2 separate regions of the Homo sapiens genome follow, and region 1 is linked to region 2. The links are contacts of gene promoters, found by promoter capture Hi-C in human tissues and cell types (Jung and others, 2019). All regions are on one chromosome and are shown on one strand. The core of a region is centred on a gene start or on the middle of the fragment in contact, and the rest is flanking DNA. Distances in the headings are between cores, read along the strand shown.

Region 1 (5,762 bases), core at 319-2,818, 34 kb after region 2:
TACCACGTAGGCAAATTTGAAAATAGACACACTAAATATTGACTACAGGAAAAGAAAAATGTGTATTTATTCATACAAAACACATTTATTTAGCATCTATAATGTGCTGTGCCCTGACCTATAGTGACCCAAACAGATTAGCAGATCTCACCCGATCTTGTAGTGCAGTGATTTGAATAGCAATGATCTTTGGACCCTAAGCAACCCAGTTTGGCCATTCCCTGATGTCATTTTTTTCCCCCATTTCCATTGTTATTTTTTGAGAACATACAGACGCTTTTTGATCCATTTGTTGTAAGAACCTAGCCTCTTGATCAGTTGCATTTACAAAATAACAACATTGATAATTTCATAAATGTGTAAGATTTACAGCTTACAAAGAACTTGCACACACATCTCATGCATAACTCACAAAACCTCTTAATTCTTTCCCAATAATACAGGGGAATCATGGACTCAGGGGCTGACCTCCAAAGACGCTGTTGGTGGTAAATTGTTAGAGCCCCGAGATGTGACTTAAATTTAGGTTTTCTGACAGAGGTGTGCTGCTCGTCTCTATGCTAATCCATTACACAGCCAGACAGGAAGAACTGTCAGTAGATTCTGATCAATTTCTCTTTCTATAAAAAAAAATGATAAGCTTAGTTAAATTGTATTAGATAAGTGAAGGGTTGTTTATAACAGTCCAGCCTCCCCTTAGCTTCTTCTATGGCTTTCATTAGGCTCCATCAAAGCCTACTCTCAAAACAAAATATAAAAATAATTGTTAACTACTAACATTGATTCTGTGATCTTCCTTTTAAACTCATCTATCTATCTATCGATCTATCTATCCATCCATCCATCCATCCATCCATCCATCCATCCATCCATCTATCCACCTAGCTATCCTTCTATGTTTGCAGTCAGTTGCTAGTTATTAAGATAATCAGAATTGCTTTCAGAATTAATAATTGGTATAAATTTCAGAAGAGTTTGAATTTAGGTGGCAAATTCATAATAAGTGAGAAGGTAAGCTATAGCATCCTCTGATAATGTGTGCAGTTTACTTTTTATCTGTCTCTTTCTAATTGAAAACTAACAAATATAGCCCCAATTAAATGCACGTAAAAATTAGAAGCTGGTGGGATAGGGTATTAAACACAATCCTAGATGACTCTTATGAACTCATACCATAAGCAGCCACTTTCTTTCTCGAGCAAACTATAGTGAGAATGAAGCATCTTAGATTGAGAAGGGATTAGGACGACCCTGAATGGAATGGGCAAATCATAAACAGCTAGGCCCTTAGAATTTGGTTGCAGTCCCAAACCCAGGTCAGTTTTTAAACATGACTATCAGCTAGATATCCTTTCTCCACCATACAATAATAGATAACAACCTTAATAAGACGTGTAGACATTAAACTTTGAAATTCCACAGTAAGATGTAAATATTTGCTCAATCAAGTACAATTTAATATGTTTGTTATACAGCAACTGCAGAGCACAGAATTTTGTACTCTTTGGATGTTTATGATAAGGTACACATTATTTGCAAGTTTTTGCTTGTTTCCTTGTTCAGTTTTTCATTATCAAACAAACAAAGCTTCTCAGCCTGGGATTAACCTGGAGTCTGGAAAGTATACATTATGGCCAGCAACTTTAAACAATAGGCCAGAGATGGGAAATGAATGAATGAAATTCTGACACAGAAGACAAACAACAGAAACTCATTTGGGCTAGTGTAGGTGTAGGTTTTTTATTCTTCAACCAACGGTGGTGAAGAGGATCTCCCTTCACTTTATGGAGGCCTTGCTGGTTTGGAAAGTTCATTGTTCGACACCATGGATCTCCAGGTGGGTCAAGTTTAGAGATGCACCAACCTGGAGGACTCCATGCTGTTGAGCTGTTCACAAGCAGCGGACACTTCCAACTCCATCTTCCCAAGAACTAAATGGGTGTCTTCTATAGTGTATGTGCAAATCTCCTTCAAAAGGAAGTCTTACTCTTCCTGCTTTCAAAAATGGGAACAAAATTCACACCTCAGCATCCAAGTATTTGTTATTTTTGTGGATATTGTTAGAGCTGGTGTCACAATGTAAACTACTAGGATGAAAATAAGTATTAAAAGATTTCTCTTTTAAAAAGCTGATTAGAAATGATAGAAGTATAAGTAAAATATTTGTTTGTGAATTTTAATTATGTACAGAATGAATTTTAGTAACAGGCAAATCTAGCATTTAAGACTGCAATTTTCTAAAATTTAAATTTATTGGATTTCTAAAGTTGGTGTATCAGCATATTATTCTTAAATAATACGCCTTCTGTTTTACAATATTTCTCATTTTTATTTATATCTTTAATTGGCTAAATGTTTTATAATGTTAATTAATAATGCTGAAACAGTCATTCTTGTGATGTTTTAATAACTCTACTAGTGTTTTAACAGTAATATGGCCTTGGGGTTTGGTTTAAAGTAGGTGTTGTACATGATATTAAGGAGATGACCTTTATCAAATGTTTTATTTTTCTTGTATTGGAATTATCATATATATATATTTTCTTATTCAGACTATGTGAAGTGACATGTTATTTGTTTTCCTGATACTAATACATTTCTAAATCCAATGGCTTTAATTGTCATGATATGTTACTCTTTTAATGTACTATTGAATTCCATTTGCTACCATTTTACTAAAGCATTTTGCATCTACATTTGCAAGTGAAACTGAGTTAAAAGTTTGTTTTTTTAATTTTTGAGTTATCTTTGGCTGAAATTTATTTCATAATCACTTGATTATATAAAACCAATTGGTAGCTTCCCCTTCATCCTTATACTGTTGAAAATTTTACATAGAACGATGATCAATTCTCTAAATGTTTGAATGGCCCTTCCTGGAAAACTTCTGGTAAAAAGCTCAAATCATTTTTTACAACAGTTTTAAAAATTATTATAACATTTTTCTAAGTCACTTGCCTATTCACATTTTCTATATCTCTACTCATTAATTTTGTTAAATTATAGATGGCTACCATTATCTATTTAAGAAAAATGCTTGTAGTATTTATCAAATAATTGTGCATATGATTCTGTTAAAATAATTATTCTCCAAATTTATCTTTCCTTTCTTTTTCCCAATATTAAATGTTTTTCTCATGCTTTTTTGCCAGAGTTTTGTGGCTTTTGATTTTTATAATTTATTACTTATCTTACTTTTGTAGTTACTTCTTTTTAATTCTGTAGAGGTTTTTGTTTCCCTTTTTAAAATAATTTCTTGAGTTTAAAGCTTAGTTTCTTCTGCATTATAAAATTTTGATACTTCTTCTTTAATATTGGGAACATTTATAGCTATGAATTTGTTTCTGACAACTGCTTTAGTCTCATCTAAATGTTTAAAATATAGCCTGGTTAACATTAAGGGAGCACAGGCTTGCTGCTTTTCAGTCTTTTGGCTAAGACCAGGTGAAAAAGAGCACGGGTTTAGAATCAAGGAGCTTAGGTTTGAATTCTGACAGTTTCACACATGTTGTGAGAGGGACTTTAACTCACTACACTTCTGTATTTGTAATTTAGAGTGAGTATATTTACATTATAGTGCTTTGTAAGATTAAATGAGATATGTTTATAAGTGTACAGTACTGTGATGATAGCAAAATCAAATGTTCAACACAAATATTAATATTGGTTGAAAATTATAGTTTGGGTTGTTCTTTTTTGTATAATAATTTTAATTTTTAAAATCTGAAGTGCTAGATGTTTGTTGCTTTTGTTGTTATTTCAAATTGTCTTACAAATTTCTAATTTTATTGCATTTTGCCCCAATAATATGGTCTTAGAATGTCTATATTTTGGGAATTTTCTAAGCTTTTCAGTTTTTGAGTTGTTTGGATAACTGAAGATCATTTTCTTTGTTGAAAAGGGCCAAGATATACACACACATGCACACAAAATGCACTCGTTTTTTATTTGTATTTATTTCCCATATTCATTATATTATTCATTTATTTTTGTTCTTATTTTTTAAAATAAATCTACCTGATTTGTAGCTGTATTTGCATTTTTTGCACCTATCATGTTTGAATCAAATTCTGTTGGTTTTTAAACATATTTTGAATTTTATACATAACTAAACTATTTTTCTCTGTTCTGTTCAGTACACTTTGCTTGTAATTCTAGTTTATCTGAAACTAATATGGCTGCTTCCTATTTCTTCTGTTTTAGTTTGCCTAAAAGAATTTGTCATCATTTTAAACTATCTGTGCCATTTTATTCAGATCAATCCCCTTTAAGTATTTTATAATTAGAATTTATTTATTTATTTATTTTGATCTTCCAGTCTCTGCTTTTAAATTGGTAGTTTAATTCTCTCATATTTTCTCTTCTCTTTTTTTGTGGTTTTATTATTTTTACTTCCCTTATGTTTCAATATTTTCTCCCACATATTTTTCAACTTTCTCAAAATATTGATTGCGAGAGTATCTATCAATACATATTTTTAAATTTAATTGCTTCTTAGTTTTACTTTGAAAAACTGTATTTTATCATTCCATGTTTTTCTGGAAATTATCAAAGCCAAGACCAAAATGTTATTTTTTTTTCAAATTAGCATTTGTTTATTTCACACTCATTTTCAGATCTTTGGTAATATTATGTAGAGTCTTAGTGTCAAATTACTACTATTTAAAAAATTTTGTTACGTATAATTTTTTTATATATGTAACAAAATTTACAATATGTATGTATATATGTGTGTGTATATATACACACGTTTTGTGTGTATATATGTATACATATATACATATATACTCACATATGGTTTGTATGTATATACGTATATATATATACGCACACATATATATGGTTTGTATGTATGTACATATTATACATATATATGTGTGATTAAATAATTAAAAATATTGGAATAAAAACAAATGTGTGTGTATGTATGTGTGCGCACACATATACATGGTTTGTATATATATGCATATGTTATACATATATGTATGTATTATATTTATATATGTATGTATTATACATATGTAATATGTGTTTGTGTGTGTATGTGTATATGTATACATTTGGTTTTTATTCCACACATTTGGTTTTTTTAAACCACACATTTGGTTTTTATTCCAATATTTTAAATCATTTGCCTTATACTGTAGAATTATTACTTTGCTAACTTTTGTTTCAGTGATTTATATGAGTCCTTATATAGCAGGATATATTTGTAATTTTTTTTCTAATTCAGTTTCTTGAACAATTATTTAATACTAGTTTTGTTTTAATAAACTTAATATTTTGAGCGAATGCATATCTAGGTATATATTTCCATTGCCTTCACATATGAAGGTCAGTGGTCACTTTAAGGTCAGTGGTCCCCAACCTTTTTGGCCACCAGAGACCAGTTTCCCGGAAGATAATTTTTCTAGAAACCGGGGTTGGGGATGGATGGTTTTGGGAAGATTCAACGGCATTACATTTATTGTGCCCTTTTTTTTAATATTACATTGTAATATATAATGAAATAACTATAAAACTCACCATAATGCAGAATCAGTGGGAGCCCTGAGCTTCTTTTCCCGCAACTAGATGGCCCCATCTGGGGGTGATGGGAGACAGTGACAGGTCATCAGGCATTAGATTTTCATAAGGAGCACACAACCTAGATCTCTCACATATGCAGCTCGCAATAGGGTTTGTGCTTCTATGATAATCTAATGCCGCTGCTGATCTAACAGGAGGTGAAGCTCAGGCAGTAATGCAAGTGATGGGCAGTG
Region 2 (5,852 bases), core at 439-2,938:
ATTTCCATTTATCAATAAATTTACATTGCTATAAAATTAATCATTGGATTGTCAACTGTTACATAGATGTTTCAAATGAAGTGTCTTTTCTTGTCAATAGGAATAGAAGCTTATAAAAACACAGGGACAGTGGTTTTTGCTCTTGTGGATGGCCTTTAATACCTAGCAAAACCCTGGACGTCAAGAACTGAACTGAATTTAATTGACTATATTATATTATATCAATGTATCTTTAACTTGCTCTTTGTCTATCCCTGTGACCCAAAAAGTGATGTGTCCAATTCTGGGCTATTCAATTTAAGGTTTCCACTTCTTGCTCTTTATTTGATTGAAGTTGGATGAGAGAAAATAAAGCCTATGTAATATATAATATATTGATGTTATATTCACATACACATATGCTTTTACAAAAGCAAGTTTTGGCCTAAGCTACACTTTAGAATCCTATCATTGTACTTTTATCAAATGAGGTTAGTATCTAAAAATAATAGATACAATTATTGGCAGAAATTTCTCATTAAAATAAAGAAATAAACATCAAAGGCAGGTCTGAACACAGAAAGTTTGCATCCTAAATCTTTTTTCATGGAGATCACAAATTCCCTGAAGCATCAAACATATATATATTCTGGAGATATATATATATATATATATTTTTTTTTTTGAGAGAGATATATATATATATATTTTTGAGATATATATATATATTTTCTGGATATATATATATTTTCTGGATATATATATATTCTGGACATATATATATTCTGGATATATATATCCTGGACATATATATATATATTCTGGATATATATATCCTGGACATATATATATATATATATTCTGGATATATATATATATATTCTGGATATATATATCCTGGACATATATATATATATATATATATATATATATATATTCTGGATATATATATCCTGGACATATATATATATATATATTCTGGATATATATATATTCTGGATATATATATATATTCTGGATATATATATATATATTCTGGATATATATATATATATTCTGGATATATATATCTATATATTCTGGATATATATATCCTGGACATATATATATATATTCTAGATATATATATTCTGGATATACACATATTCTGAATATAGATATAGATACAGATATAGATATAGATATATTCTGTAGTCTACTGCCCATTAGCTGAAGAAAACATGGTCACTGGCTCATATTTAAAGTAAGAGAAAAAAATTACTTCTCCTTCGGATACATTTGTCAAAGCTCCAAAGAAATAAACAATCTGTGAATAGTTCAGCACAATTATATATTTACAAAGCATAGTGGATTTAGTCTAACATTTTCCCACCTGGAAAAACTGGGCTTAAGTATCTCCGACAAACAAAAAGCAATACTGCGTTCTTCCCAATATGCCATGTCACCTTTGTAGCACTCACACACTTGCAGGGAAGGGACTCGGGGTTGGGGGTGGTTCTGATGTAGAAATTGCAGATGGAGAGCTGGGCTCTGGGGATGGAAATGGAGAGAAGCGAAAAAGAGCCTGGAGAAACGGCTGTCATATTTGCTCAGAAGAACCGCCAAATCAGAGAGCACAGAAGATTTCATTGGAGGAGCGCCTTCAACAGCAACTAATCCTGTCATACTGAAAGAAAATTGTAAATGTTCTCTCCAGAAATTGTCCGCCCATTGCAGCTAATCGAACACACACGCACGAATACAGACACGCTCTCCTGCTGTACTAAAGGCGCCAGGGCGCAAAGACCTAGGGAGCGCGCGCGGGCACACACACACACACACACACACACACAGACACACACACACTCACACACTCCAGGCTGCGGGTTGGCCAGAGCCTGGAAATCGCAGATTTCACCAGGAAATCGCCGAGGTACCCGAATAGGTGTTGCCTCCCAAAACTAATTCCTACTTCCCCAAGCACTTTGGTGAAGAAATGAATCCAGCCCAGCTCGCCGAGGCATCCAGGTCTCCATTCTATTTTGGTCTCCAGGCTCTTCGTGAAAGCCAGGTTTGAAAGTCTTGTTTGCTTCTCCTTTAGTGGTTTGGCGTGGAGGGCGGGGGCAGCGTCAATTTAACTCCAGTCTAAACCACGAACAGGTCACAGACTAGCCAAGTGGCTGAGACGAGTGTGGGGTGCGTGACTCTGCCTGCGCGCGCGCCAGCCCCGCAGCTCTCGCCAGAGCCTTGGGGTCGGTTCTCTCCCGCCTCTCCCGCCTCTCCCGCCCCACCCCTACAGTGTCTCGGCATCAACTAATCTTTTCCTTTTCTTTTGCAAGATCAAGGGAGAAAGAGAACCGGCAGCTGGCCTCGGACTCTAAGCGGTGCGCAGCTCCAGCCCGAGCGGATCGGCCCTGAACCCACAAAGGACTCCTCGCTCCTTCAAGCCTCCACCACCTCGCAGCCGGGGAGGCAACTGGAGCGAAACCAGCGACAGGTAAGGGCCCCGCGCTGTGCAGCTCTCCGCTTACCCACTCCAAGGGCCCTGGCACCAGGGGGTCTCTCCCTTCATATCCCCCCAAGCCGGAGGCTCAGGGGTCGGGGCTTGGGGGAATTGGAGGGAGGTCCTCCCCACGTGCAGATTCTCAAACGGAAACTTTGGATCCTGGGGCTTGGAGGGTTGCGAGCAGTGATGGCGGGTCTGAAAGGAAGGGGCAAACGAGGCACAGCGCGAGGCGAGGTACCCCTACGATTCCGACGGTCACTGAGTCCAGCCGAATGTGGCGAAAGCAGCCTGGGAGCTGCGCTGTCCCGGCGTCGCTCCCTATTCCAGCCCCCCATTCCCTCTACTGTTGCTGACCCCCCTCCCGCCACCCACTCCAGATGCAGCCATGGACAAGACAAGGAGAGCTTCGTCCCTCCCGCCCCTCGGGTTCCTTCCTGCTGGGGTCTGACCGCGTCTTCTGTGCGTGTGGGATGGAGGCCCGGCTCGCTCGGGCTCCGAGCTGTCCCCCGGCTCCGCTTTCGGAGCAGCCCTTGGGCGCTGGAGAGGTTTCCCATTGCGGTCTCCAGGTCATGGCCAAGGAGGAGAAGCAATTAGAATGGGGGAAAGGGTCCCAAGACAAAGGAGAGGGAAGCATTCTGCAATCCCATCCTATTTGAGCCCCGCGCAGGAGCTGGACTGTCCGCCGTGGCTGGGGGACAAGGTCTCAGCCCGAAGCTCATGAGGTACCAGACAGTGCCTGGGCTTCGCCACCTAACTCACAATGGGTCCTGAACCGCCCGGGCAGTCCCCGGGGTCGTAGACTGGGGACCGCTGCACCCCTCCCCGCCCGCAATGTCCCTTGGAGTCCGCACCTGAGGTCCCAGGCAATCGCCGCTAACTTGTAGCTCTCGGACACGGACAGGTGCGGTCCATGCCTGGTGCCGGTAGACGCGCAGAAATTCCACCTGTGCGCGCTGCCCGGCGCCCCTGGGGCCCCTCACGGGGTAAGTAGAGACTCATCTGGGAGAGGTGAAAATTCCCCAGAATTATTGACACACACGGCGGCACACCCTTTGCCTCCGTCCGCCTCCAGCATCCGCATCCCTTTCTCTATCTTCCTGCCCATTGCCGTCCTCGAGGCTGCCCTGAGATACAGAATTGTCCCAGGCTGAGTCCACCGACCCGCCAGTCCCTGGCGATGATGCCAAGGCTCTTGCATGTACGGAAATACCAGCAGGGAGGTTCGCCAGGGGCAGAGAGGCTGGAGGAGAACAGAGAATTGGAGGTAAACGCGTAAAGCCAGCAGAACTGTCGGTGGACATTTCACCCAGGCCGCCCTCCCGCGTCTTTAAGTCAGTTCACCGCCACAGCACGTCTGTGACTGCGGCCACCCAGGGCTCCAAGTCTGCCAGCCCAGGCGCCGCGAGCCAAGAAGAGCGCGGCGCCTCCCACTCCTCAAGCTCCGGAATCCCCCACATCGACTTTCTATTTCCCTGTCTTCTTTTCTTTTTTGTTTGTTTTGCTTTTCCTGCTCTTTTCTTAGCGCTGGGTGGCAGTGGGTATGCGGCAGCCGTGTGATTTGCCCATCCCCTAGTACACGCAGCCAGCGACACAAGCACACAGCGACCAGTCCCCACGCTGTGCCACACACCCTCCAGCGGTCCGGCGCGCAGCCCCTGCTCCACAGCCCGGGACGCCTGCAGCCACCGCCAGGGTCATGGCCATGGCCCACGCAGGGCTCTGCGGGTGGAGAGGGGAAGTCAGCCTAGACTCCAGAGAGAAACCCTGGGGCAACCCGAAAGGCCTGAGGAAAACTGGAATTGGGGTTAGGCATGAGGGGAGGGAGTCTCTGGGGAAAACGGGCCGGGCTGTGCGGAGCCCTGAGGGCTCCTGCGGCTGCAGCGCTGCAGGCCGCCCGCGTCTCGCCCCGCCCCGCCGCTGGGCGTCCCCGCCAGGAGCCCACCCGCGGGCGGCAGCTTTTCTCCATGCTGCCCAGGGAAGTTCGATGCCTGGTGCTGGGATGCGCCAGCGCTTCTGTTCGCTTCTGGCAATCCTGGCGTCTCCCAATGAGAGGGCTCTCAAAATGAAGCTTTTAATAAACTCCAGAGTAAGGAACTCGGGATTGTGCGGCAAAGGCCGCGCATTGCACTTTGTGAGCAATCGGTAAATATGCGCAACCATATGATAGGAAATATATGCATTTTCATTGATAAGAAAAAAAGAGATGATGGTATTTTTAAACAGAAGCCACAAACAGGCATACCTGTGCCATTGTTGGGGAGCTAATAATAAAGGCACTGATGATCACAGGAGTAAGAACAATTGACTTGGCCAAGAGACAATTTTAAGCTGGGAACTGTATTCGGCTGCAGTTCAGAAAGTGGACTTTTGAGACTTGTCAAACGAATGGAAGAATTTTGTGCCAACAATGTCCCAGCTTTGCAGGCTTGGCAGCTGAGGACTCAGAAGTAACAAATTAATGCCAGGTGAATTATTATTGTTACTACTATTATCAAAATGTGTTCCAGTTGCAGCAATACAATGGATAAGCAACTTCCTATTGACTCTATTTGCTTTCCTGGGCTAGACAATAATGCCAATTAAAACTTAAAAAATTTAACCTGACCCTAAAAAGAGGTGAGAACTCCAGCCAAATCTGTTTACCATTTTAAAATAAAGCTCTGTGAATGAGGTGGGGTGGGAATGGGGGAAAGTTTTGGGACTCCAAATTCCCAGGGCTAGACTGTCTGAAAGATGCTTCATTTTCCTATAAAATAAAGAGGCATGTTTGTTTGTAGAAGGGTGCTTGAGGGTGCCTGGAGGCAAATTGGAGTGAGCAAATAGGTGGATTTGAATACTGTCATAGTTCCAGTAAAAGGGAACCCAAAGAGCATGTTTTCAGCTCTCAACTAACTTCAGAGTCAGATGTGGAAAGAACTAGCAGGTGAAATACTGGTAAAAGTCCCTTTGGAGTGAGTTCCCATGGTCCTTCAATTTTGGGAGGCTGAGACTGTTGTCTTCATGTTAAAAAACAAACAAACAAAAACACATATTGCTCTAAATTTGACCCTATCGCCTTCATTGCCCAGAAAGTCCAGATAGTCAAGCATCCAGATGTGTCTTTACTGGACAATTTTCCAATTCCAATTCCAGAGCAGCCATTCCCCAGGGCCAATAGGAATGGGTGGTTTCAGAGATCCAAAGAAAACAGTCCCAGACTGCTGGCAGGTAGGGAAGGCACAAAAAGCATGAATGACACTGTCTTCAATGGAAGTTAGGCTGGCTAATTAGGAGTCCTATGTCTCTCTGACCCACAACAATGAGTAAAGTTAAAACAAGTACAAAAGAGGGAGAAGAGAAGAAATTAGAACAAAAGGGAAATGAAGACGGAATGGGAGAGAGAAAAATG

What was found. The method cuts DNA at HindIII sites, captures the fragments that hold promoters and counts their contacts. A contact is called where the count stands out against the background at its distance.
Region 1: a contact is called between a fragment that was not itself captured here and the fragment with the promoter of CHRM2 in region 2, in 1 of the 25 tissues and cell types used here (pancreas).

The regions. Positions count from the first base shown.
Region 1 is chr7:136,901,382-136,907,143 of GRCh38, forward strand. The region is part of intron 2 of CHRM2 (cholinergic receptor muscarinic 2); the gene reads left to right. MIR490 (microRNA 490) reads left to right here and starts at 1,786; the gene lies at 1,786-1,913. LOC349160 (a long non-coding RNA gene) reads right to left here. Exons shown (of 4, transcript NR_046103.1): 3 at 469-620. The HindIII fragment of the contact is 3,977 bases long and covers 1-3,557 here.
Region 2 is chr7:136,866,964-136,872,815 of GRCh38, forward strand. CHRM2 (cholinergic receptor muscarinic 2) reads left to right here and starts at 1,689. Exons shown (of 4, transcript NM_001006630.2): 1 at 1,689-2,029; 2 at 2,298-2,455. RefSeq lists an enhancer at 2,368-3,130. The HindIII fragment of the contact is 6,446 bases long and covers 1-5,604 here.